Linked DNA regions of Homo sapiens: all the other regions are linked to region 3. The links are contacts of gene promoters, found by promoter capture Hi-C in blood cells and fetal thymus (Javierre and others, 2016). All regions are on one chromosome and are shown on one strand. Each heading gives the region's core, a stretch centred on a gene start or on the middle of the fragment in contact. The rest is flanking DNA. Distances are from core to core; before and after follow the strand shown.

The links. Contacts are between HindIII fragments. The CHiCAGO score rates a contact against its expected background, and 5 or more counts as called.
Region 1: a fragment that was not itself captured here is called in contact with the fragment with the promoter of F13A1 in region 3 in 4 of 17 cell types (megakaryocytes, M2 macrophages, M1 macrophages and 1 more); the score reaches 11.5 in megakaryocytes.
Region 2: a fragment that was not itself captured here is called in contact with the fragment with the promoter of F13A1 in region 3 in 1 of 17 cell types (megakaryocytes); the score reaches 6.2 in megakaryocytes.

Annotation. Positions count from the first base shown.
Region 1 is chr6:6,474,309-6,478,156 of GRCh38, reverse strand. The region is part of intron 3 of LY86-AS1 (LY86 antisense RNA 1); the gene reads left to right. Among named protein-coding and RNA genes, the nearest start is that of LY86, 110 kb to the left of the region's middle. The HindIII fragment of the contact is 1,385 bases long and covers 1,740-3,124 here.
Region 2 is chr6:6,451,315-6,455,557 of GRCh38, reverse strand. All of the region lies in intron 3 of LY86-AS1 (LY86 antisense RNA 1), which reads left to right. Among named protein-coding and RNA genes, the nearest start is that of F13A1, 130 kb to the right of the region's middle. The HindIII fragment of the contact is 2,336 bases long and covers 1,620-3,955 here.
Region 3 is chr6:6,318,086-6,322,022 of GRCh38, reverse strand. F13A1 (coagulation factor XIII A chain) reads left to right here and starts at 1,361. Exons shown (of 15, transcript NM_000129.4): 1 at 1,361-1,436; 2 at 3,341-3,488. The coding sequence starts at 3,359. The region is part of intron 1 of LOC124901253 (a long non-coding RNA gene); the gene reads right to left. The HindIII fragment of the contact is 4,604 bases long and covers 1-3,646 here.

The DNA of each region.
Region 1 (3,848 bases), core at 1,183-3,682, 160 kb before region 3:
GACCTGGGATTGATAGAAATGAAATTTTCAGGTTAAGATAAAAGACTTGGAGACCAAGGTGCCTTTGAAGCCTTATAGTGGCTGCCCTTAGAGACAATAGATGGCAAATGTTGCCTATTCAGATCTTTAAAAGGTGCTAGACTCTTAGGTCTAATCTCTTTAGGATTGGGAGGGCCTGGAAGAAAAAGATCTAGCTATATTAATAGAGATTCTTTACATATGCAAATTTTCCCCCACAGAGGATGGCTTGCGGGGCCATTTCAAGATATGGCAAAGAAATATGTTTTGGGGAAAATATTTTGGTTTCCTTCCTTGTCTCATAATGTTATACCAGAGTCAGGTTGGAAAATAAGTCATGATATATAGGGTTAAATAAAACCTATCTGATGAGAATTTATGGTTTGTAGAGCATGACACCCCAGACTCCTTAGATAGGAATTTGGGCAAGATAAAAGAAATCAGAGCTTAGTCCTCAGGGGGAAATATTTGTTTTGCACATGGTAATAAGTTTCAGAGTGGCCGTGCTAAGGCAATCTGACTCGTCCAAATTGTGACCCCTGTGTCCTAACTCAGAGCCACAAAACCATCCTGATTGCTAACAGACGCCATGTGGTTATAAACAGATAGAAGTCTTTCTATGTAAGGAAATGGGAAGTCGGGGGTTGTATTACAAAGGTTTGAATGTAGACAAAAACTTTTCTGATTCCCTGAACTGGAGGGCAGTTTGTCCTTTAAAGCAACTAGGTTCTCATTTCAGCCTTTGCTCAGAGGAAAAGTTACTTTTTTGGGTATTGATTTAGGTCAGTTTAATTTCTATTTGTTTGACCCACAGCTTAGATTTATTTTTCTTCTTTTGGGATTCCGTCATTTATAGCTGAAGAGGTAAAGCTTAATCTACAGCCTTGCAAAGTGAAGTCAATGATACCAAGTCTCAAGATTCCTAGTGGGATTGTCTCAGAAACCAAGAAGGAAGGGGCTTCAAACTTTTCCATTAGAAAGACATTTTCTATTGAAACCATTTATTTAATCTCTCTATGCCTCCACTTCTCCATTAATTTGTTTATGCTGTGCACTTATTTAGCTCAGCTGCCTATTTATTCAACAGATATTTGCATAGCATATATCAATGTCAAAACCAGAATTTAGCAGATTGAAAAACAAGACAAATCAATGGTCTCAGAATTTAATAACAAATGCTAGAGCTTCCAGAAGAGAGCATCTCCCATGGCCTGTCTTGGATTTTAGATCTCTGACGTAAAGGCCAGGGCTAGAATTGACTACCCCTCCCCTTATCCCCTCAGTCCTTCTGTAAGAATACTGCTTCTGCTTTACATTTTCCATATTCATAATTTCTTTTCTAATTACAAAAGTAATATGTTTATTATGGAAATTGAAAAATCCAAAAAGGTTTTAAAAAAGGAGAAAGAAAAAAATTATTCTAAAAGAGTTGCTGTGAGCATGTTAATGTAATTTCTCTCTTTTCTGTTGTTTAAAAATCTAGTCAAGAATATTTTACATAGACCACCTTATTTTCCAGTTTTCACCTAATGTTATAACATAAGCATTTCCTTTTGTTACTCTAAACTATCTATATTATTTTAATGGAGATACATTCTTCATTCTATAGGTATAACCTTATTCACTTAAGTAATCTTTTGTTTGAGAGTATCTTTTCCCTTAGTTTTGTAAGCTTTTTTCTTATAAACAATACTGCTATAGTGTTTTTGTGGATGGAAGCTTTATACAATTCAGATTTTTTTTTTTCGAAGGAAAACTCCCCAGAGTATAATTACTGGATAAAACATGAATGGATGTTTTCAAGACTATTGACATGGATTGTCAAATTACTTTCCAAAAGGGTTTTGCCATCTGCATTTCTTCTCCTGTGTCAGGATGTCTAGTTTAGCTGTGTCCATCGTTAAGGAGGTAGGATGCATAGTTAAGAACCTAGGCTCAGAACCGGATTGCTCAACTGAAGTGCTTGGTCTGCCACTTACTCTGTGATCTCGGACACTTTACTTAATCTCTCTATGTCTCTGTTCTCCCTTTGAAGAATGAAGACAAAAATAGTACTTCCTCATAGTGAGAATAAAATGAATTAATATATGCGAAGAGATTAGAATTTGCCTGGCATGTGGTATGTGCTATTTTAATATTAGCTATTATTACCCCATCTACTATCATGGATAAGACTTAGGCAAAAGATAACCGATGAAAATCTAACAGTGTCCTACATCAGGGTGTGGTGACTTGAGTAGTGTCCCCCAAATTTCATGTCTACTCTGAAACCTCAGAATGTGACCTTAGTGGAAATAGAGACTTTGCATATGTCATCAAATGAAGAGGCAGTCATACTGGGTCAGGGTGGACCCGAATCCAATGGCTGGTATCCCTACAGGAAGAGGAGGGAACACACAGAGACAGAGGAGAAGGCCCTATGAAGATGGAGGCAGAGACTGCAGTTATGTTTCCACAGCCTGAGGAACGCCTGTGGCCACCAGCAGCTGGAGGAGGCAAGGAAGGATTCTTAGAGCCTTCAGTGGAAGTATGTATGGGCCCACTGCACCTTGATTTCTGACCTCTAGTCTCCAGGCCTGTAAGAGAATAAATTTCTGTTGTTTAAAGGCATCACATTTGCATAATTTGTTATGGCAGTCCTAGAACAGTGATACACAGGGTAGATCCAAAGGTGCCATCAATAGGGAATATACACAGTTATTTACATGAAATTGGCATATCATCGCTGTGAAAGGAAAATAATTGGGGACCCCAAATCACTAAGCCAAAGGGAAAAGTCAAGCTGGGAACTGGCAAACCTGCCTCCCATTCTATTCCTACGTAAGGTTGCTACAAAAATAAAAAAAGCTACACACCTCTCTCACAATTTGCCCACAAGGAAATTCCTTGTGGACTAAAGGACAAAAGACAGAACTCAAAGTCATTCCCTTGCTCACATGAGACAAATGCACACAATTAAAGAATGCCACTGTTTGTTTCTTTTCTACCTGTGACCTGAAGCCCCCTCCCCACTTTGAGTTGTCCTGACTTTCCAGACCAAACTAATGTACATCTTACATATATTGATTGATGTCTCATGTCTCCCTAAAATGTATCAAATCAAGCTTTGTGCCGACCACTTTGCCTACGTGTCCTCAGGACGTCCTGAGGCTATGCCACGGGCGTGTCCTTAATCTTGTCAAAATAAACTTTCTAAGTTGACTGAGACCTGTTTCAGATATTTTGGGTTCACATAGCCAAGCAGAATTGACATCATTTGAGGTCACTAGGGATTCTAAACAGAGTTGCAGGCCAGCGTCTCAGGGTGATCTTCCTCGGTGACATCAGCGAGCTGACTGACCCAGGCCACCTGTTGTTCTGTGCGCCTCATCCACCCCCTCTGCTGGCCCTGGCCAGGTTCCCAAGAGCTTCTGGATGGATCTTTGTTCTAATTGGCCATTGATAACATGGGCTCATTTCCGCATCCCCTCTGTGCTAGACTGTAATGATGATTGATGCAGGTAGCAAATGGCCTAGAGTCGCCCTCACAGCCTTATTATTGCAGATACAATTACCACCAGGCTGAGCTTGCTGCTATAGTAGCTGATAATGGACTCTAATTTGCCAGTGGGGCTTGTGTTCCTTTGTTCCCAGACAGAGATCCATTTCTAAACTAGAGAGTAATTCATAAATATTTTTCTCTCCCGTCATGAGGGAAGGCCAGATTTAATTGCACAATGAAAGGCAATTCTACCCAGAAGCCACGGCAGGAGGCTGTGCTCTGCTAGGGCACGGCTCACTGATCCAGGCTGTTCATTTTGCAGAAAAGCCCTCTGAGGCCCACAGAGGTA
Region 2 (4,243 bases), core at 1,538-4,037, 130 kb before region 3:
ATGAGACTGAAGCAAGATCTCCCTGGCCAGAGCCCAGTCACATGGCCCCAACTTGGGGGGCTGAGGAACTCAGAGGAGTGCACGATGTTTGGAGAGCACTTGCTTTCTCTGCCACAGTGATTCACCATATGCTCATCAATATTGATTGAGCAACTATTACATAAATTGGATGCTTTTTGGTAGGGAAAATCACCAACATTAGAATCAGACACATCTGATCATGATTCCCTACTTGCTGGATATTAATAATTAGCAAGTTTCTACACCTCTCTGAGTTTTATTTTTCACATCCATAAAATAAGAGTAATTATATTAAACCCCATAGGATGATTATATGTACCAAATAAGATACATATATAAAGTTCTTTGCACAATAGTGACATGAATAAATGCTGGGTTTCTTTTGCCATGCCTGCAGGGTTTTATTGGCAGAGTTATACAAGACAGAAAGATTTCTAAGTAATGGTCCCCATCCTCAAAGAGCATGCAAACTTGGAGATAGCAGTAATGCAAGTACACAAATGCTTAAAATAAAAGGCCTTATGAAAGAGCTATAGAGTTGATAGAAATAAGAGGTTCTAATGAGAACACATGGACACAGGGAGGGAAATAACACACTGAGGCCTTTCAGGGGTGGTGCAAGAGAAGGGAGAGTATTAGGACAAATAGTTAATGCATGAGGGGCTTAAAACCTAGATAATGAATTGATAGGTGCAGTAAACCACCATGGCACATGTATACCTATGTAACAAACCTGAACCTTCTGCACATGTATCCCAGAACTTAAAGTAAAGAAAAAAAAGATTCTTATTTAAAAAAAGGAAATAAGAGGTTCTATAAGAATTTAAAGGAAAAACTGTCACTTCTGGCTGTAGAAGGCTTTCTGGGGGAAGTTACATTTGAGCTTTGTTTGGAAGAATGGAGAGGACTTCAAAGTAAGATGGGAGGATTTGAGAATTGTATGTTGTATTAGTCAGAGTTCTTCAGAGAAACAGAATCAATAGGATGGATGGATGGATAGATAGATAGATAGATAGATAGATAGATAGATAGATAGATAGATAATAGATAGATAGATAAAGATATATGAGGGGATTTATCATGGGAACTGGCTCCCATGGTTATGGAGGCTGAGAAGTCCCATGATAGGCTGTCTGCAAGCTGGAGAACCAGGGAGCCAAGGCTGTGACTCTCAGTCTGAGGGCAGGTGGAGGTGCTGGTAAAAGTCTTGTAGCCCAAATGCTGGAGAACCTGGAGTTCTGATGTCCAAAGGCAGGAAAAGATGAGCGTTGTATCTGCAGAAGACAGAGAGCAAATTTGTCCTTCCTCCACCTTGTTGTTCTATGTGGGCCCTCAGCAGATTGGATGATGTCCACCCACGTTGGTGAGGGCTGATCGTTTTTGCTCAGTCCACTGCTTCAAATGCTAATCTCTTCCAGAAATGCCTGGAAATAATGTTTAACCTGCTATCTGGGTGTCCCTTAATCCAGTCAAGGTGACACCTGAAATGAACTATCACGTATGTAGAAAGAAGCATTTGAGTAAAGGGACAAAATTTTTAAAATTTATAAACTATTTAGTGGACCAGAAATAGATCAATTTTGACTGCAAGGGAAGCTTAGGATAGGGGAATGGTGAGAAATAAGGCTGAAAAAGATAAAGTGTCGATGGGGTGGGGAGGTCTTGAATGAATGTTTGTAGATGGAGTTTGGACGTGATCTGGTAGGTAATTGGCGGATAATTACAGATACAGACATTTTAAGGAGTAGAGTAATAGCATCAATGTGATGTATGTAGAAAGAGACAAAACTTGATGACAAGTAAATAATAACCAAAGTATTTTCCCTTCTCTCTAGCAGGGAAGAGAACCAAGAGAAAAAGGATCTTAGAAAATGTTTAATCCACTCGTGATAACTTGTAGATAAAAAAAATTGACATCAGAGAAATTACGTGACTAGCCTGAGGTTACTTGATGAAGCAGGAATGGGTACAAGATGTTCTGATGTCATCATTTTGATGCTGTCACTTTAGTGAGTTCTTTTCAATGCTTTGTTAACATTCTAATAGCCCAAAGCAACCTGGGATTCTCAGGCTGCCTCTGTCTTTCCTCTGAGGAGGAAACTAGCCCGAATGCCCTTGACATACCAGTGACTTAGCTTTCTAGGATTCCCAGATATGATTCTATTTTAATTCACTCAGTATCTGTTTGTTGACCACCTAGTGTATGTCAGGCACTGCATTTGGTGCTGTGGATACAACAAGGTTAACTTTGTGAGATTTCTGCCCTTAGATAAAGCATGTGGAAATTCAGAGAAGTAGGAAAATATTTTAGCTGAGGTTTTTCAGGAGGAAACCTAAGGAAAGAATGGCTTGAAGGTCAGGTTCACAAAGGAATGAATTTCTAAAGTTAGATATCCACAACCGGTGAAAACTGGCAACGGGGAGATATCTGAGACACCCTTCAAACTGCTCCAGTAAGAGCTTGTCTACTTCCCCTGCCTGTATAAGCAACCTTGGTTCCTAGTGGGTATATGTGTGGGACATTACAAGTACACATAAAAAATATTTGTACACACACATGCTTCTCTCTAATACTTATAAACTCATCGCAGTGGAAATTCGTTCCTTCCCCCTGCCCGCCGGTTGTCCATCATCCAATTCCCCCACTTCCTGCTCTCACCTCCCCACCTTTGGGACATCACTAGATAGTTGTCTGACCTTAGGATGAGAACCATGTTTGTGGTGATGGATAAATTTCCAGGATATTAGGAAAATCAGGTAGGATTTCAATGTTGATTTTTTTCTTGGTACCCTGGAAACTTATCCGTGACCACATTAATTGTTCTCATCCTAAGGTCCGGCAACTGCCTGTCAGTTGTTATCCATGCTGTCCCAAAGGTGGGGAGGTGGGAGCAGTCCACTCTGGGCTGCAGACAACAAGGAGCCACACAGTCTGTAGAATGCTTAAATATAATAACAAAACCAACTGAAAGCCCATCTCCTTATCATCCCCATGTGACTTCCACCAAAGTCTCAGTTCTAACAATTGCTTGCCGCAGAGCAAACTGCTCCCCTGCGTCACCCTGGACCCCCAGGGGTCAGGCCCAGCTTCCACCTTTCAGAGCCTGCTGAGAGGTATCAGTTCAGAGAATTCCCCCACCACCCCCATTCCCTCCCTACATCCTATCCTCGCTGATTGGGAGAAGGGAGGAGCACCTTTGGGGGAAATGCAGTGTTTGGGAGGGAGTGTCATTTGTTCCAGTCACCACCCAATTGGGAGAAAGGGACAGGCTTTCCAAAGCCAAGGGAGCATTCCAGCCACCCCTCCCTCTCCCTCCGAGGCTATCTGTGTCACCAGCCAACTTTCTGATCTGTTCCTAGTGACTAGAACAGAAGGAAAACAAATAACAGGGTAGAGAAGGCATGGCATTTCCAGGCAAAGTGAGGTTAGGAACTTCCCTTCCCCTGCAAATTTACCAGTTTCCAAGAGGCACAGTGCCTACAGCCTGAGAGGTGTCCACAGAGAGATTGCACAGGAACTGCAATCTTGCCAGGACTATCACTGAATGCTGGTGGTGGTTAGGGGACAGGGGTGGGTGGTAAAAAGTGGGGAGGCAGGATAGCAGGGAGGGGGAGAAGGGAGCCAAAACAGCTTGTTCCCACCAGCTTCTGGGTCAGTCAGAAGACATAGCCCAGTGTTCAGGAGGGCTCCCCTCATCTGTGTGGTGTGCTGGAGCCCACCACCTGGCCACATGTGGCACATGAACACACACAAAGCCATAGTTATAGCTAGGTAGGTCCAGGACACACTTGCTCTCCTCTCTGCCTGTACTGAGGGATGCAGGAATTACATTAATAGTTTCAAGTTTTAAGTAAAATATCCCTGCAACTGAGAATCCCACATCCTGTGTTTCCCCATCTAAGTGCACCCCAAGGTAGGCATGTGATTCAAGCTTGGGCATGCAGGTGCCCCTCTGGGCACATTTACTTTCAATGAATGAGGGAACACACAGGCTGGCTGGAGGCATATTCAGTGAGGGGACAGCAATAGGGTTCCTGCTAGAAGACCTTGGCTGTGGTGGCTTGTCCAGCCCATGAGAGCTCTCTCAGCTGCACATTTCCAAGCCTGTTCTCTCCTGGTTATCCAAGGATAGCAGAAATGTGTTTCTGTGGCTGATGGCATGAGTCCTGATAGACTCTTTAACTGCTGGAACTTGCCATAGACATCCACATCTCTACAATA
Region 3 (3,937 bases), core at 112-2,611:
AATACTGAAGAGACCTGAAATTGCATGAATGCTGAGAAGACCCACTATTAGCAAGCAGGAGCTTGAAGCTGCAAGAGGAAGAGTACGTAAGAGTCACAGCAAAGCCCCGGAGAACAAGGCAACGCAGAAGCCTGGTTTGGAGATGCAGAGGGAGGAGGGACCTTTCCAACTTCAGTAACAAGAAGAAAGAGGAAAAGATAGATAAGGTTGCAGGCAGGTTCATAGATTGGTAGCAGAAAATTGAGAGAATTTCTAACCAATGGCATCTTTTTTTTTCTTCTTTATAACATTGGGAGATTGAGTGGCAGGGTCAGAAATTTGAAGACAGTAAAGAAGGTTAGAAATAGCCATGTTTGACTGGGTGCGGTGGCTCACGCCTGTAATCCCAACACTTTGGGAAGCCAAGGAGGGTGGATCACCTGAGGTCAGAAGTTCGAGACCAGCCTGGCCAACATGGTAAAGCCCCATCTCTACTAAAAATACAAAAATTAGGCGGGCATGGTGGCATGCACCTGTAGTTCCAGCTACTTGGGAGGCTGAGGCAGAAGAATCACTTGAACCCGGGAGGTGGAGGTTGCACTCCAGCCTTTGCAACAGAGCAAGACTTCATCTGAAAGATAGAAAGATGAAAGAAAGAAAGAAAGAAAGAGTAAAAGAAAAAAATTAAAATTTTAGGGGGAAAATTTTCTAATTTTTGAACATGCACTAAAATGATTTTCAGAGAAAACCAAGTGTTATTTTCTAATCTGCATGGCATTATTAAAGATGTTTACTCATCTTCCTTGGGGCTAGGCATCCCATTCCTGCAGGAAGTCTTGTGGTTAGGCGGTGGCTGTGGCTCTGGGATGATTCAGGAATGCAGACCATGCCTTATTTGCACAGGAGGGACACGTTGCTCTCACTGCATGCATGGTCACAACTGTCTGTGTGACCTGTCTGTGGGAGGGCAGACCCCCCTCCTGCCAAGCCACAGTAGCAGCTGACCTGCCAGGCAAAAGCATTCCTTTGTAAAGGAAACCCTCCCAGACCCTCTGACCAAAGGGGACGGGTGGGGACTTCCTGGCACTGCAGGGCCCCTTGCCTGGTACTCCCAGCAACTGGTTGCGGTGGGGAGGGCAGATCTAGGGATGGGGATGGGGAGGAGAAGTGGGAATGGGAAATTGGGAGTCAGAGGGGCAAGTGGGAGAGAAGGGCGCACCTGCCGGGATAACAGGCCAGATGAAGTAAATAGAAAATCCTCTGAGCTCCCCTACTGGCTCCAGCTGTGGAGAAGGGGGAGGAGAAAACCCTGTGGGACAGGGGAGGAGGGTGAGGGCTCCTCTTAGGAAGTTATTTAAGAGCCAACTGTCTTGTCTTTCCCGAGTCCGTTTGAGGAAGTCCCCGAGGCGCACAGAGCAAGCCCACGCGAGGGCACCTCTGGAGGGGAGCGCCTGCAGGTAAGCCACCGACCCTGCACCCTATGAGCCAGGGCCCGCTGCGTCCACCTTCTGCACCTCGGTTTCCTGGTTGAACCAGCAAGCGGCTTGCTCTGGGCCCTGTGGCGCCGGTCACAGGCAGCTCCACTTGCCCAATCCTGGCTTCCCGCCCCCAACTCCGCACCTGCCCAGCCCAGCTTCTAAGCGGGACTTCTCTCAGGCTCTCGAGGCAGCTCTCCCGAAGCCGTTGCTTGCTTAGAATGCCACCAAATGGGGATGGGGGAGTTGGAGGTGCTTCCCCAAGGGACGAGCCCCCTTTCCTCAGGGAGCAGATTATGGAGCTGGAACACAAAAGGTGGAGGGAGTGGGGCCAAGTGAGAACAGCCTGCTAGACTGGAACCCCGCCGGCTTGGCTCCCCACTCCTGCGCGCCTCCCCACTCCTGCGCATCGCCTGCCTCCGTCCCAATTTGGAGCTGAACTCGAGCCACTTCTCCTCCTTAGACCCGCCCAGAAGCGAGGGCTCCTGCCCGCCGCACTCACCCAGCCAGGCGTGCACCTGGGGCTCCCCCCTTCTCCCCCTTAGCACTGTGTCTCCCGACAGCGCGCCACACTGTTCTGCACCCCTGGCAATGCCGCAGCCTACCTTCGGTATTTCTCACTAGAGGATGGCTCTCGCAGCCTTCTCCCTATCATTAACCCTTTTTCGCTCTTCTCCCTCCCTTCCCCCGTCAGCTCACCAATGACTGTAAATATATTTATCTATACTTATGGATACCCATTCACACCTTATGCATCCAAACACTCCTGTCTCCTTCTCAGACCAGACACCTTAGGCGTGGTTGTCTTTTCTCCAGCATGTTGTTAGTGCTCCACATGTCTCTGGAACCATCTCTCTACTCTGGTGGCCTCTATAATGGGGACTCTTCACCTCTTGGGGGTGTGCCTGGTTTTTGAAAATAGCCAAGTCTCCAGGAGTCATGACTGGGTAATCCAGGGGATCAAGGGGGAACCTTCACTGGGCCCAGAAACAAAGTCCCCCTTCATTTGGTCATTTGGTCAACAAGTACTTACTGGGCACTGACCGTCAGGTGTGTGTTGTTTAAACTGGCTCAGTGCCTGCACAAGCTCCAAGGGAAGGGGAAGCAGGCTTGGGGAATGGGAAATGTTGGCAACCCTGACTTCTTAAGCCTATTGATAGCCCTATTGAAAATTGCATGCCCAACCTCTCCACCTCCTTATCCTCCTCCATGTGGCTCAATTTCCAAAGCAGTTCCTACCTCCTCACCCCTAAGTGGATTTACTTATGGCTCTTCTTGGGCTCCACCCTAACCCTATCAGACTATAATCTATCAGAGCAAACATTCTGTTTTGTTCTCTGATGTATCCCATGTACCTAGATCACAGCCTGGCATGTCATAGGCCCTCAATAAATATTGGTTGAATTAAATTGCAAATGTAAACGCTTTAGAAGACAACATTTGTCTGGACATGGTTGTGTGCGTTTATTCTTAAAAGTGACTTATAATCTCATAAATCTGTATGAAATGAACATAGATACAGCACATGCATATAACAGGAAACATTTCTTGCGAAGATGCTGCTGTAGGATTATGGAGGGTGGGGGAATCTGGGTCTCCAAAAATCTTTTAATTTTTAAATTTCTTTGAATAAGCCCCTTTTCTTCTGCTTTCCATATGTTTTGACACATACAAAAATCTCCCCAAGATCCTTGGGGAACTGTATTCCATCATTAGACTAATCCTTGCTGCCACTTCTCAGTTTTTATTTATGCAAACGGCAAAATGTGTTGCTCAAGTGCTATCACACACAGATATATCTGTTTCTCTATTTTGGAATCCTTGTCTCAAATGTTACTCACTTTACATGCCTTTTCTGTTGTCTTCTTTTTTTTTTTTTTCTGAAGGACCTTGTAAAGTCAAAAATGTCAGAAACTTCCAGGACCGCCTTTGGAGGCAGAAGAGCAGTTCCACCCAATAACTCTAATGCAGCGGAAGATGACCTGCCCACAGTGGAGCTTCAGGGCGTGGTGCCCCGGGGCGTCAACCTGCAAGGTATGAGCATACCCCCCTTCCCCACCACTCTGGGTCCAGGCACAGCCGGGCCCTGGCCCCTCTTCCCTGCAGGTAAACATCCTCTGTCTCCACTGGGGTTCCCACAAAAGGAAGCCCCCTGCCAATCTCTGGTTTTATAAAGGAAGAAAGCAAAAGCTTTCTTTTAAGTGGTGAAAGCACCGAAGACCCAGAGCCTTGTCCCAGTTCTGCCCCTTACTGACCTTGTAACCTCAGAGAAGTTGCTTTGTCTTTCTGCCTCTCAACTATTTCCTCTACAAAACCAGAGTGCTGGATTAGCTAGGGCCTCTTCCAGCCCTACTGCTCAATGCTTTAGAGAATTTTCTCTAGCTGGAATATTCCACTTCCAAAATATTGTGGCTGTTTTGATTGTCTGGCTTGCACCTCCTTCCTTCTCCCTCCTCCCTCCTCCATCCATTGCTGTGAATTTC